2 separate regions of the Homo sapiens genome follow, and region 2 is linked to region 1. The links are contacts of gene promoters, found by promoter capture Hi-C in human tissues and cell types (Jung and others, 2019). All regions are on one chromosome and are shown on one strand. The core of a region is centred on a gene start or on the middle of the fragment in contact, and the rest is flanking DNA. Distances in the headings are between cores, read along the strand shown.

What was found. The method cuts DNA at HindIII sites, captures the fragments that hold promoters and counts their contacts. A contact is called where the count stands out against the background at its distance.
Region 2: a fragment that was not itself captured here is called in contact with the fragment with the promoter of AGBL4 in region 1 in 2 of the 25 tissues and cell types used here (mesendoderm cells and thymus).

Annotation. Positions count from the first base shown.
Region 1 is chr1:50,018,761-50,025,810 of GRCh38, reverse strand. AGBL4 (AGBL carboxypeptidase 4) reads left to right here and starts at 1,857. Exons shown (of 14, transcript NM_032785.4): 1 at 1,857-2,048. The coding sequence starts at 2,015. LOC105378708 (a long non-coding RNA gene) reads right to left here and starts at 1,790. Exons shown (of 3, transcript XR_947311.3): 1 at 1,689-1,790. The HindIII fragment of the contact is 7,609 bases long and covers 1-5,649 here.
Region 2 is chr1:49,783,763-49,791,048 of GRCh38, reverse strand. All of the region lies in intron 2 of AGBL4 (AGBL carboxypeptidase 4), which reads left to right. Among named protein-coding and RNA genes, the nearest start is that of AGBL4, 240 kb to the left of the region's middle. The HindIII fragment of the contact is 3,145 bases long and covers 2,068-5,212 here.

The DNA.
Region 1 (7,050 bases), core at 608-3,107:
AGCAAGCTGGTTTTCCAGGCTTTTCGTCTCCTCTGCCCAGTAAGGCATTTGTCTATCAATTCTGACTAACAAAACTTTCTGCAGTGATGGAAATGTTCTATACATATGTTGTCCAATATGGTAGCCAGTAGCCACATGTAGCTATTGAGCACTTGAAAAGTGGCAATTCTGATTAAATAACTGAGTTCTAAATTTTACTTAAAATTTAAATTGACCAATGTGGTTCAATTTAATAATGTTATATTTGTCTCTTTATCCTCAGCATCTGCACAGAGCCTGGCTCATACTCATCAAATGCATTTTCATTCATCACCCTATTTGTGTCTTAGAGCTACTCTTTGTGGTAGGCAGGACCTTTGTCTCAGTTTGTTGGAAGAGGAAACTGAGGCTCAGTAAGTTTAAGTGATTTGCCCAAGATTATAAAGCTATAACATCAGTCTGAGTAGAACCCACATCTTTCTCTTTATTTTTCCATCTCCCTATACTTAATGTAGTTCTTTTGTTCTTCTTAGCCCTTATTGACTCCTCCGACACCGAAATTCCCAAAACCCTCACAGCCTTTACATAAGTGTCATTAGGACTGTGGAAAGCACATATATATTCATCTTGATAGTTGTGTGGACATGGCTTGTGAATTTTAAACTGTTCAAATGTGAGAGATAATTCTGATAGCTATTTTCATGTAACTTTCTGTACAAGATTCTTATCCCTGATTTTAATGCAGATGAATGGACAGTTCCATGCATGTGGCCAGCATCTTACTTAGAAGGCCTTCCGGTCCGTCTCTGCATTTCTGCCTCAAGGCTTTCTCTCAAACTCTAGAAGTCTGCTCAGCCCTGGCAAGCATAACCAGGAAATGTGAGAGAGTTCAAGCTGGAAGGTGGAGAGCAACCCTCAACCAATGGAGACAGAAATTAGGAGACAAATGCCCCAGACTCTGTGTTCTTCAGTGGGACAACGGCAGGCACACATTCTACCCTGTTTTTCAGAGTCTGAAGCAAGATTAAAAATAGTTGTCTACTAAAGCAATCAGCTCAATAACACATTTTTCTTAGCGTTTTTCCCCCTTCCCTCTTTCACTCTCTCCACCTCATTTCCTTTCAGATTACCACCATTTTCCATTCAGCAGACATTGACTGAGATCCTACTTTGTGTCATGCACCACGCTGCACTATGGAGTATACAAAGATAAGAGAACAACCGTAGGTATCAGAGAGCTCATGGTCGAGAAGGAAATAATGCATAAAGCATTTGGAATAGAGGGAATATACAGGGGACTGCGGGAGGGCAGAGCTGGTCAGGACGGGTAATGTTCCAGCTTGGTTTTAGACGATAACGGCGTGTCACTACTGAAAGGTGGGAAACAGCAGCCCATATTTACTGAAAAATACGTCAGCAAAAGGATAAGTCTTTTCTGGGGTTGAGGGTTGCTGTCGCAGAGGGGCAAGGAGCCAGAACCCTTTGGGCCTCTGTGTGTTTGGGTTGGGGTGGGCACACAGTTGGTTTTCAGTGCATTTCAGTTGAAGACGAGTAACCCAGGCAAACCAAGGGGAGAAGCTTTGGGAAATCAAGAAACCTGTCCCAAGTCCCCAAAGTTGAGCACCAACCACAGAAAAGCCAGTTTAGCTAGTCTGGGCGGTCAGTACGAGGACCCCGGTCGCCGTCAGGAAAGCGCCATCCCTACAGACCTGGCCCCTGTGCTCTAGGGGTGGCGGAGCCTGCTCAGTTGCCAGGATGCGGTGGATCGGTTGCGGAGGAGCAGCGCCCCGGGGCCCAAGTCCCAGCTCAGGCCCGGGCTCGCGCCGCGGGGGCGGGGCCTTGGACGCACGCTCCTCCCAGGCGTCCCTCCCGCCCTCAGCCGCGCGCCGGCCACCCGCGCGCCTGCCGCCCGTTGCCCAGGCAACCGTCGTGCCGCGTCTTCCTGAGGTAGCTCCTGTCAGCCCACTGATCCCACCACCCGCTCCCTACTGCCCCGCGGTCTTCGCGTGAGCTCGGAGACTGAGGGACAACAAAAATGGCGGAGGGGAGCCAGTCGGCGCCTGAGGCAGGTCTGTGGGGGCGGCCGATCTGGGGAAGGCTGAGGCGGCCAGGCTGTCCTGGGTCTCAGGCAACAGGGGACTCGGGCATGGTCCTACTCCTGAGGAGGCGGTCCTGTATATTTGCGCGGTGGGTTATGACTTCAGGGTCAGGGGTCAAGGGTGGCGTGCACCCCTCTGAATGGCGGGCAGGGACCTCGAAGTCCGGGTGGTGGAGGGGAGTGTGGGTTAGTGTGCACACTTCTGACAGAACATGGGCCCGAAAGGGGCTGGGACCTGAGGGAAGAGACAGGATCTTAATCCTGGGATCACCTGTGGTGAAGGCTAATCCTAGGGCTAGGCTGTGTCATGGAAAGGGTGTACACTGCCCTGTGGGAGCATGGGAGAGATCCCTAAAGGGGCATGATTTGGGCTCGGGGTGGGAGTAGGAGGCTCTGACTCTAAAGAGGGAGGTATACGTGGAAGGTGTGTTACTTTAATATCAGACAGTGCCATGGAAGGGGGAGTTAGAGTATTTGTGTTTGGGGATGTGCAGTGTCCTCAGGGTCACTCCTGGTCACAGAGAAATTTATGCAAATAATTCTTGTATGGGTCCTTAAAAAGACAAGAGGCCTTGAGGGGATACCCGGAGCCCCAGTCCTTTAGGAGCCTACCAAAGGAGGCTGGAGCGTGAGTGTGAGTGTGTGTGGGTTCAATGATCTTGAAGGTCATTCAGAATCAAAGGAGTGCATGTCCACACTTCTGTGGGTAGAAGATAGCCTTTAAGGGACAGGAAGACTGACAGGAAGGGAGACCCAGGATCCTATTCCTGAGGGGACCCCTTGTGCATATGGCTGGGATTTGTGAGATACTGACTTTAAGTTTCTCACAGGGTCATAGAAGAAAGCAAAGGTTTTTACAGTTTTGAGTATGTGGGAGGGAGTTTGCCTCTAAATGAGGCTGACCACTGAAGAACTGGATGTTACGGGATGGCATGGGTGTGTGGGTAGAAAAGAAGTGGCTTTGGGAATATGTGTGTGATGGGTGTTGGCAGTGGTATACATAACCTTGTATATATGTCCTGATCAGGTATTATCATTACAAGAGTGATCCACTTGAATTACTTTGGTCCTGGTGTGTGTGTGTGTGTGTGTGTGTGTGTGTGTGTGTGTGTGTGTGTGGTTATGGTACATACACACCACACCCCAGAAACTGGAACTGAAAACTATGACACCCTCAGAAATAAGTTCGAGGAACCATTATGTCTCAAGGCCTTCATTATTTCTCTTTCTTTCATGGCACCTCTGTTTTATTGAGTAGCTCCTCTACTCATTTTATAGTTTTAGCTCCCTCATAACTTGAACAGGCTTATTCCTTTATTCATTCATCCACTCAACAAATATCGAGTGCTAACTATATGCCTGGCAATAAGTTAGGCATTGGAAATTCCCTGCTTTGGATGAGCTTACCTTGTTCTTCTTTTCCTTTTTTTCTCATAGCATTTATTGCCTTTGAACATACTATTTAATTTACTTGCTTGTATTGCTTATTTCCTGTCTCCTTCCACTACAATGTAAGCTCTACAAGGGCATTGTTTTATCAATACCACATGTCTAGAACTTTTCTAAGTGTATAGTATGTTCTCAATAAAGATTTCTTAAATGAATAACTGAATTACTGATATTGTCTGGAAGTGATATTTTAGCTGACATATGATAGGGATTGGATAATTGAAAAAAAGGGCAAAGAGTGGTCGAGGCAGCAGGAAAACCATGTGCAAAGAACCCAAGCAGGTGGAAACATGTTATGCTGTGTTTGAGGAACTGAAAGGAGACAAGTGTGGGTACATGTGGGGCAATGGGAAGAGAGAAGAGGTACGCTGAAGCCAGATCTTCCAGTACTTTGTAGAATATGATATGAATTTGGGTCAGAAATCCTAAGAATAATGGGAAGCCATTGAAGGCTTTTAAGTGGGAGCATGCCATGATTAGAATAATTAAAAAATAACTCTGGCTACAATGTGGAGAGTACAGAGGATACAAGAGTGGATATAGGATATACTCTCCACCAGCTACATTGAGGAGAGTACAGAGGATACAAGAATGCATATAGAGAGACCTTAGAAGGTAGCAGTGGAGATGAAGAGAAGGAATTGAGAAATACTTAGGAGATAAAATTAATAGGACTTAGTGAAATATGAGGATGATGGAGAAGGAAGTATCGAAGACTACTTCTCATTTTCTAATTTGTTCAACTGGATAGTTAGTGGTGCCATTATTGGGATAGGGAGCATTGGAAGGGGCCTTGGGTAGGTGTGAGAGGAAAGATCATTAATTTGGTTTTAGATAAGTGGAGATTGAGGTATCTTTAGGACATCCAGATAAGCAGAGAGATTGACAAGGCAGTTGAATTTACAAGAAAAGTGTAAACTGGCATAGAGATAATTATTTTGACATAGAAATAATTACTCAAGCCATGGGTGTGGATGAAATTGCCTAGAGGGAGAAGAGGCCTGGGATGAAGTGTTGAGTAGCTGCAATATTTCAATGCCTTCCAAAGAGACTGAGAAGGTGCGACTGGAGAGATTAGAGCACAGCTAAAGGAATGTTTCAAGATAAATGGAATACTCAGTAGACTGAATGCTGCCAAACAATATAAAATGAAGGGCTAAAAAACTAGATTTAGCAACAGAGAGGTCATTGGTAACATTGATGGTAGAAAATTGATGATGGTAAAAAGCCAGGTCATTTAGGCAAATAATGCCTCAGTCTTTGTTTAATTCAAATTTCTGAGAGAGATAATTTTATTGACCCTTATTGTCTTTTACCACTAAATCACAGTCCAGTGTCAGGATTGACTGGTTTTAGATTAGGTGTCCAGCTATTGCTGGCTGGAGTCACCTGATACAAAATATGGCCATCTGGTAATTTCTTAATCTCACTTGAAATAGCCAACATTTATGAAGTGTTTATTTTGTACCACGCATTGTACTAAGTGCTTTATACATTTTACTTCAGTCTCATAACAACTCTTTAAGGTATTCTCTATGTTTTATATGTGGAGAAGTTTTGGCACGGAGAAGTTGACAACTTAATTAAGATCTGCAAAGAATTAGTAGAAGATTAGTTTTTTTGACAATTTAAATGTTACCCAGATTCATTATTTGGCTTTGTGTTTGTATTACAACATACTACGTTCTGAAGAAATCATAGCCATGATGAAAATCCCTGCCTTACAGGAAATATTCTAAACTAAGCATATTCTAACAAGGTGAAATGGAAAGAAATGGGCTCAGATCCTTGTGTAAACCCTACTTTTGTGACTGTGACTTATTATATGTGGACCTTGGACTCAAGTTTTATGATCTTCAGTTTCCTCATTTGTAAAATGGGGATGATATTTGCAGGATAGCTGTGAATATTAGAGATCATATACTTGAAGTGTCCAATAAATGTTATGTCCGTAGTTCACTTGAAGCTTGAATATAAAAAATTTCAAATGTATTGCATATACTTTACATATAAAAGAAATTATATAAACATACAATGATGAGTATAAGAAATTCTGTTTTTTCTTCATTGGTTTTTCACTGCTTTGCTGTCAGAAGAAAGGCAGACATTAAGTTTTGGAGAATGTAGAATTGTTACCTGAACTGTGTATCATGGGACCGGTCTCTGTGTGAGGTAGATTTTGAGGAATTTCTTGGAGGAATAAGGGACACTTAAGATATCTTAAGCATGCTTTTATATGTAAAGTATATGCAATACATTAGAAATTTTTTATATTCAAGCTTCTTACAGAGCATGTAGATAGCTCTGTAAGAGGGTCAGATTTATAAAAGGAAGTTTCTTCTTTTAAATCTTGTGCTTTAAAATGGGGACACAAATGTCAGGACTTTTTCCCTATAAATTTGATTATCAATACTAATAAAAAAGAAAACCTTACAGTTAATTACATGTAGGAGTATTAGTCTCATGCTAGATTGCACCTGCTTCTTTTTCTTAGCTTCTTCTCCCTCTCTTCCAGCTATCTTAAAAAAGCTTTTATTTTAGTTACCCGGTAAAATAATTTGTTTTTCTATTTTGTCAAGTTATTCTGTGGAAGCCCATGTAGGCAAACATTTTTTTAAATGATGCAGTCTGTTAAAATGGACCGTACCTTTATCACTCTCTGTGAAATAAATGGGTCTATTTTAAAAAGCAGGTTTATATGAATCAGAAACCAATTATGGGCAGAATGTTGAAATTGTAAAACGCCTTAGAAATGAGAATATTGTTTGATAGCTTGTGTTAGTGGTTGGACAAAGTAATAGTTAAGCCTTTTTTGTTTTAGTACCTGTATTTAACTGGGGATAATAACAGCTACTTTTAAGGTGAAAATTAGAGATAAGTTATGGAAAGTATACAATGTCTTACACCCCCAGAGAAATGATATCTTAATTGGTGTCTGTGTGTGTTTATGTGTGTGTGTGTGTGTGTGTGTGTGTGTGAGAGAGAGAGAGAGAGAGAGAGAGAGAGAGAGAGAGAGAGAGAATATTTTTTTTCCTAAAGGCATAGGAGAAAATCACCTTTAAAAGAAGAGGAAATCCAGGTCTGCAGTCCCTTATCTGGCAGGTATGGATGCAAATATATTTCAGAACTCAGATTTCTTTTTATTATGGAAAGGCAATACTGCATATGTACTGTCAATTACATAATACCCCCAATGGGGTGTGAGATAGTAAGATGTAATCAAACACATCAATATCACATTCACAGTAAGTGAATAAAAATTATAAACAGAGTCACATAAATTTGGGTTGGATTTTGCTATCAAATTAATTTTGGTGCTAAAGTTAGATATTTGGTGATTTTGGAATTATGGAAAAGGGAATGTGGACTTACATAATTTTATTCATTTTTGGAAATATTTTCAAAAGTTTAAAATATTTTTCTCACTTTTAGATTTTCTATATTATAAGTGAGCTATAACATAATATTAATATCTCAAAAGTATTGAGACAGAAAACTATTTTTTGACAGAAAGTTTATGTGCT
Region 2 (7,286 bases), core at 2,391-4,890, 240 kb after region 1:
CAAAACTGTAAAAACCTTATAACAGTCTAATTCCATTTTCCTGTCCTGCCCCATTCTTTGGATATTGTTATTATATGTTTTATATTTTGTACATTATAAAGCTCACTACAATGTCAATATTTTAGCTTCTATCAGTCAATTGGCTATTAAGACAATTACACATTAAAAACATCTTTAAAATATAGTCGATTATCTGCCATTTCTGTTGTTACTCTTTCTTGTAGATACAGGTTTTCACCTGGCTTTCCTTTAGATTTGAGTTTCTATCAACCTGGAAAACATCTTACACATTTCTTATTGTGCAGATATGCATCTTCTGGCACTGAATCCCCTCTGTTTTTGCTTATATAAAATTGTCTTCATTTCACTCTTGTTTTAAAGGATATTTTCACTTGATATAGAATTCTGGATTGAAATGATTTTTTGTTTAATTTTTCTTTTAACACTACTAGCATTATTCAATTGCTGTATAAACTCAATTGATAATTTTTTTAATTCAACTGTTATTTATTATCACTCATCCCCTTTGCAGGCAGTATATCTGTTTTCCCTGTGCTTTTAAGATTTTTACCTTTATCTTTGGTTTTAAGTACTTCAAGTATGATCTGCATAGATTGAACTTGTTTTTGGTATTTATCTTGCCTTGCTTGGGGTTTACTGAGCTTCTTTTTTTTTTTTTTTTTTTGAGATAGAATCTCACTCTGTCACCCAGGCTGGAATGCAGTCATGCGATCTCAGCTCACTGCAACCTCCACCTCCTGGGTTCAAGCGATTCTTCTGCCTCAGCCTCCCGAGTAGTTGACACTACAGGCTCGCACCATCACTCCTGGCTAATTTTTGTATTTTTAGTAGGGGGTGAGGGCAGGCTGGTCTTGAACTCTTGACCTTGTGATCCACCCGCCTTGGCCTCCCAAAGTGCTGGGATTACAGGCGTGAGCCACCGTGCCTGGCCTTAAATAGGGAATCCTTTCCCCATTGCTTTTTTTGTCAGGTTTGTCAAAGATCAGATGGTTGTAGATGTGTGGCGTTATTTCTCAAGCCTCTCTTCTGTTCCATTGGTCTATATATCTGTTTTTGGTACCAGTACCATGCTGTTTGGTTACTGTAGCCTTGTAGTATAGTTTGAAGTCAGGTAGCATGATGCCTCCAGCTTTGTTCTTTTTGCTTAGGATTGTCTTGGCTATACGGGCTCTTTTTTGGTTCCTTATGACATGTAAAGTAGTATTTTCTAATTCTGTGAAGAAAGTCAATGGTAGCCTGAAGAGGATAGCATTGAATCTATAAATTACTTTGTTCTGTATGGCCATTTTCATGATACTGATTGTTCCTATCCATGAGCGTGGAATGTTTTCTCATTTGTGTCCTCTCTTATTTCCTTGAGCAGTGGTTTGTAGTTCTCCTTGAAGAGGTCCTTCACATCCCTTGTAAGTTGTATTCCTAGGTATTTTATTATCTTTGTAGCAATCATGAATGGGAGTTCACTCATGAATTGGCTCTCTGTTTATCTATTATTGGTGTATAGGAATGCTTGTGATTTTTGCACATCAATTTTGTATCTTGAGACTTTGCTGAAGTTGCTTATCAGCTTAAGGACTTTTTGGGCTGAGATGATGGGGTTTTCTAAACATACAATCATGTCATCTGCAAACAGAGACAATTTGACTTCCTCTCTTCCTATTTGAATACACTTCATTTGTTTCCAGCATCATTTTTATACCATAACCTGGCAGAGACACAACAAAAAAAGAAAACTTCAGTCCAATATCCCTGATGAACATTGATGCAAAAATCCTCAATAAAATACTGGCACATCGAATCCAGCAGCACATTAAAAAGCTTATCCAGCACGATCAAGTCAGCTTCATCCCTGGGATGCAAGGCTGGTTCAACATACTCAAATCAATAAATGTAATCCATCACATAAACAGAACCAATGACAAAAACCACAGAGTATCTCAATAGATGCAGAAAAGGCCTTTGATAAAATTCAACACCGCTTCATGCTCAAAACTCTCAATAAACTAGGTATTGATGGAATGTATCTCAAAATAATAAGGGCTATTTATGACAGACCCACAGCCAATATCATACTGAATGGGCAAATGCCGGAAGCATTCTCTTTGAAAACCAGCACAAGACAAGGATGCCCTCTCTCACCACTCTTATTCAACATATTATTGGAAGTTCTGGCTAGGGCAATCAGGCATTATTTCGTAAAATATTCTTTTTACCACATTGTCTCTTTTTTGTTTGGAACTCTTATTACATGCTTGTTATTTTCCCATGCGTCCACGAAGCTTTGTTAACTTTTCTTCAACTTAATTTCTCTGTGTTATTCAGAGCAGATATTTTGTAATAGTTTCTTTTTATTCTGATGTTTCTAATCTGTTTTTCAGCCCATTTCATGAATTTTTAAATTTCCATCATTGTAAGTTTTAGGTCTATAATTTCCATTTGTTTCTTTTTATAGATTTGAGTTTTCTGTATAAGATTCTCTATTTGTTCATTCTTTTATTCTTTGAAATTTTTTTAGTTATTTGAAGATATTTATAATATGCTCTTTGTTTCCAAAAGCCCAAATCTGGGCCATCTCGGTGTCCATCTGTATTGATGGAGTTTTTTTCTTTTCATTTTTCTTTGTATATCTAGAAATATTTTGTTATAAATTGGACATTGTAGATGTTTTTTGTAGAAATTCTTGGTTCTTTTTTTATCCTCTGTTTTTGTTCTAGTGTGCAGTTCAGTTTTTGGCTGATCACCTTGACATTATATAGACTTAGTTATGTGCTTTGTAAAGGCAGATCTGTGGAATGTCTAAGCGGTTTTCCAAGTGTCTGTAACTTGGGGCTTGTGCAGAAAAGAATTAACTCAGCATTTATGAGTTTCTCAAAGTTTGCATATCCCCAAGAAAAGTCCTTTGTGTGTGACTGACCTTTGCCTAGCTCCCAGAATGCTCTTAGAACTTTGCATATTCTCAAGAAGATCCTTTTTGTGTGACCGGCCTTTGCCTGGCTCCTTGAATGTCCTGATAGGAATGTTCTGCATGCTTGGTTTTTGGAAATATTGTACTTGCTTGTTTAGATAGTTTATGTAAAAAATATAATTTATGGTGGACATCTGCTTTTTTTTTTCTGGGGGTTTGGAAGTTCAGTGACTGACACCCCCTTCCCCGCAAAAAAGGCCCCTGGGTTTCTATGTGCAGGCGAGCTGGTAGGCAACAATTCTCATGTGTTGTCACAGTTCATTGTTGGAGGAATTAGGTGTGTCCTGTGTGACTTCACTGGGAAAGTGCTTTTAGAAGCTCCTGCCTGGTTTTCTCCAGACTTCACCCCGTGTGGTTTTCCCCTTTGCTGACTTTGCTTTGTGTCCTTTCACTGTAACAAACTGTAATTGAGCATAACTTATTCTGAGTCCTCTGAGTCTTTCTAGTGACCTATCAAACCTGAGAGTGATCTTGGAAACTCCCGACATAGTACTCAACCTACAAACTCTGTCTTTCCTCACGTTTTTGTCTGGGGTTGGTTTCAATTTTTTTTTTTTTTTTTTGAGACAGAGTCTCGCTCTGTCGCCCAGGCTGGAGTGCAGTGGCTTGATCTCGGCTCGCTGCAAGCTCCGCCTCCCAGGTTCACGCCATTCTCCTGCCTCAGCCTCCCTAGTAGCTGGGACTACAGGCGTCCGCCACCACGCCCGGCTAATTTTTCTGTATTTTTAGTGGAGACGGGGTTTTACCGTGTTAGCCAGGATGGTCTTGATTTCCTGACCTCGTGATCCACCTGCCTCCGCCTCCCAAAGTGCTGGGATTATAGGCGTGAGCCACTGCGCCCGGCCAATCTTTGTTAGGGTGCGTCTAGATTGAGTTGTAGTTTATCACGTGATATGTCCGCCCTTCTCTTTTCTCAGCTGGTTTCCAAGGGTGTTAGCGAAATGTTTAAAATGTCGCTATATGCAGGCTGGGCTTCATCCCCTGTTTCACTGTTACAGGGGGGACTTAGGGAGCGTGTCAGTGGAATCTTGTACAGTATTGAAGGAACTATAGAAACAAAACTACCTTTGAGAAGGCTTTAGGTGAAGGCATAAAGGAAAATGAGAAAAACCTTGTTGGAAACTTGATGAAAGAGGGTTCTTGTTATGTAGTGATGGAAAATTTACCAACACTGCCACTGCAGTAATGTAGAAAGTAGAAAGTGCACTGAGTGAACTGAGTGATGTAGCTGAGGAAATTTCTAAGCAGAATGTTGGAAACACTGCCTGTTTTTTTTCTTGATACCTATAGTAAAATTTGAGAAAAGGGAGATAAACTAAAGCAAGCACTGTTAAATATAAAGGATCCAGGGCTTTATGGTTTAAAAAATGTCCAGTATTTATAGATGACAAATGTTTCTAAAATTTATCATCTTAGGTAAAGATACAATTCAGGGCACTCTAGAAAAACTTTGTCTGGAGATGAAACTGAGGATGTGATTGTAAAATCCCTGGTTGAGACCTCAGAAAGATGAAAGGTGGTGCTTCAGAGTACTAAGTTGAATAAAAATCATCTAAATATTTTAAAGGTATACTTAACCTTTAAAATAAGTGTTCTCAATGAAACAATGGAAGCTTGTTAAGAAGCTCAGAGATATTGTTACTCAGCAGAAATTCAAGGTAGAAAAGTGTTTGTCCCAGAGACCCATAGAAACTGTGGGATAATAAATATTTCTTACTTTAAGGTGCTAAATTGTGAGATAATTGTATTATGCAGCAATAGATAGCTCATAACCGTAAGATAAAATGTTAAGTAGAAAAATGCTGTGACACTATATACATAGTTTGATCTCAGCCATGTAAAATATGAGTATTTGTAGAAAAAGATATGAAAAGGTTAGCTTCAGATGGTAGCGAGGATTCTCTCTGCATCATGGAATTTGGGGTATTTATTTTTTCATGTATTTATTTGTATTTTGCTATTCTTGTAATCCAGAAAACATTTCCCTTTGTTTTCTGGAATATTTTGTAAAAGCATCAATGGGATGGATAACGGTTTAGGTAATGTTCTGCTTTCATATTTGACAATGTCACTGACGCTAATGAGAAGACAGTCCTTTTTTCTTCCTGATACCTTTTCCCATAACGTAGGTGGGTCTAGCCTCAGGAAATATATATATATATATATATATATTTTTTTTTTCCTGGGATTTCTCATGTACTCTGAAATTGTGCATATTGATTTTTGGTGATTCTGAGAGGTATGTAATGACAACGCTCATTTTTGTAACACTTTTTTCTAGCCTAGGTTGTTGTTGTTCTTCCTATTGGGAAGATACAGAGAGGGCTAAATTTTGTGAGTAGGTGGCATATGGGATTAAAAGGAAAACCATTGGAAATAGTTTTCAACAGTTGTTAGTTGAAATTCAATTTGGGCCACAGAATTTGCAATAAGATTAAAAATCCCATTGTATATGTTTTCAGAACATCATTGTTATCATTGCCACCCTGAAATAGGATATTAATACCATAGTTGTGGAGTGGTATTAGTGGTATTCAGCAAATTTCTAATTGTAACAATAGTAATAAATGATTTAAAAAATTTCTAAATTAAAATTTTTATTTGTAATTGTCAAATAGTAATATATACTTATGGGGTAAAACACTTAGATATATGTATATACATTGTGGAATGATTATGTCAAACTAATTAACATATCCATCACCTCACATATTTGTCATTTTTTTGTAGAGAGAACATTTTAACATACATTCTTTTAGTAATTTTGTAACATACATTATCATTTCTAATGTCACCTTGCTGTGGGATAGATATTGAAACTTATTTCTCTTTGGTCAGATAGAAGCTTTGTACTCTTTGGTCAGGTTCTGTCTATCTCTCACCTTCCCACTCATCCCCAGCTACTGGTAGCCACCATTCTACTATCTACTTCTATAAATTCTAGTCTTTTAGAGTCACCTATAAAAAGTAAAAAATATAAATGCTTTGGTTTATTAAGTTGCCACTTTGCTTTCAGATGAATACTTTACAGATATTTTTCAAAACCTATAAATTACTCTGCATGTTAGGTTTAATTATCTTTGTTTTATGAGTAAGTAAACTGAGGTTATAATGCTATTATTTGCTTGGCAGAGCAAGGATTTGTGGTTATCCTATTGGGTGTGAAGAAGTATCTCATTGTGGTTTTGATTTGCATTTCATTAATCACTAATTGTGTTGAATATCTTTTAATGTATTTGTTTTCCATTTGTATATATTTTTTATTTTTTATTGGGTCATTTATCTTTTTATTATTAACTGTAAGAGTTCTTTATATGTGCTGGATATAAGTCTTTAAAATTATTTTCCTATTCTGTGGCTTGTGTTTTCATTTTCTTCATAGTATCACTTGTTGCACAGAATTTGGATGAAGTCAAATTTATCGTTTTTAAATTTTGTTACTTGTGCTATTGGTGTGACATTGAAAAATTATTGCCTGATCCGAGATCATGAAGACTTGCACCTATGTTTTCTTATTAGTTTTAGCTCTTACATTTAGATGTTTGATCTGTTTTGAGTTCATTTTAGTGTGTGGTTTGAGAAAGGGGTCTAACTCCATCATTTGTGGTTTGAGGAAGGGTTCCAACTGCATAATTTTGTGAGTAGATATCCAGTTTTTCAGTATAGTTCATTGAAGAGACTTGTTTTCTCTATCAAATGGTCTTGGCACCTGTGTCAAAAATCAATTGACCATAAATGTAAGGATTTATTTCTGGACTCTCAGTTCTATTCCATTGATATAGATGTCTATTCTTATGTCAGTACCATATTGTATTGATTACTGTAGCTTTGAAACAAGTTTTGAAATAGGGAAGGGTGCAACATGCAACTTTGTTCTTCTTTTGCAAGGTTATTCTGACTGTTCTGAGTCCCTTGCATTTCTATATAAAGTTTTGAACAAAATTGCCAATTTCTGCAAGAATAGCAGCTGTAATTGTGTTTGGGATTGATCAATCTCAGGAGTACTGCCATCTTAATATTAAGACTTTTGATCTATGACCATGAGATATCTTTACATTTATTTACATTTTCTTTGTTTACTTTTCACAATATTTTGTAGTTTTCAGTGTACAAACCCTTACATTTATTTTGTTAAATTTATTCCTAAGTATTTGTGATGCTCTTGCCAATGTAATTGTTTTCTTATTTTCAATTTTAAATTATTCATTCTAGTGTATAGAAATACAATAAATTTTTTTGGTGTGTTGATATATCCTACAACTTTGCTGAATCCATTTTTTAGCTCAAATACTTTTTTTATTGG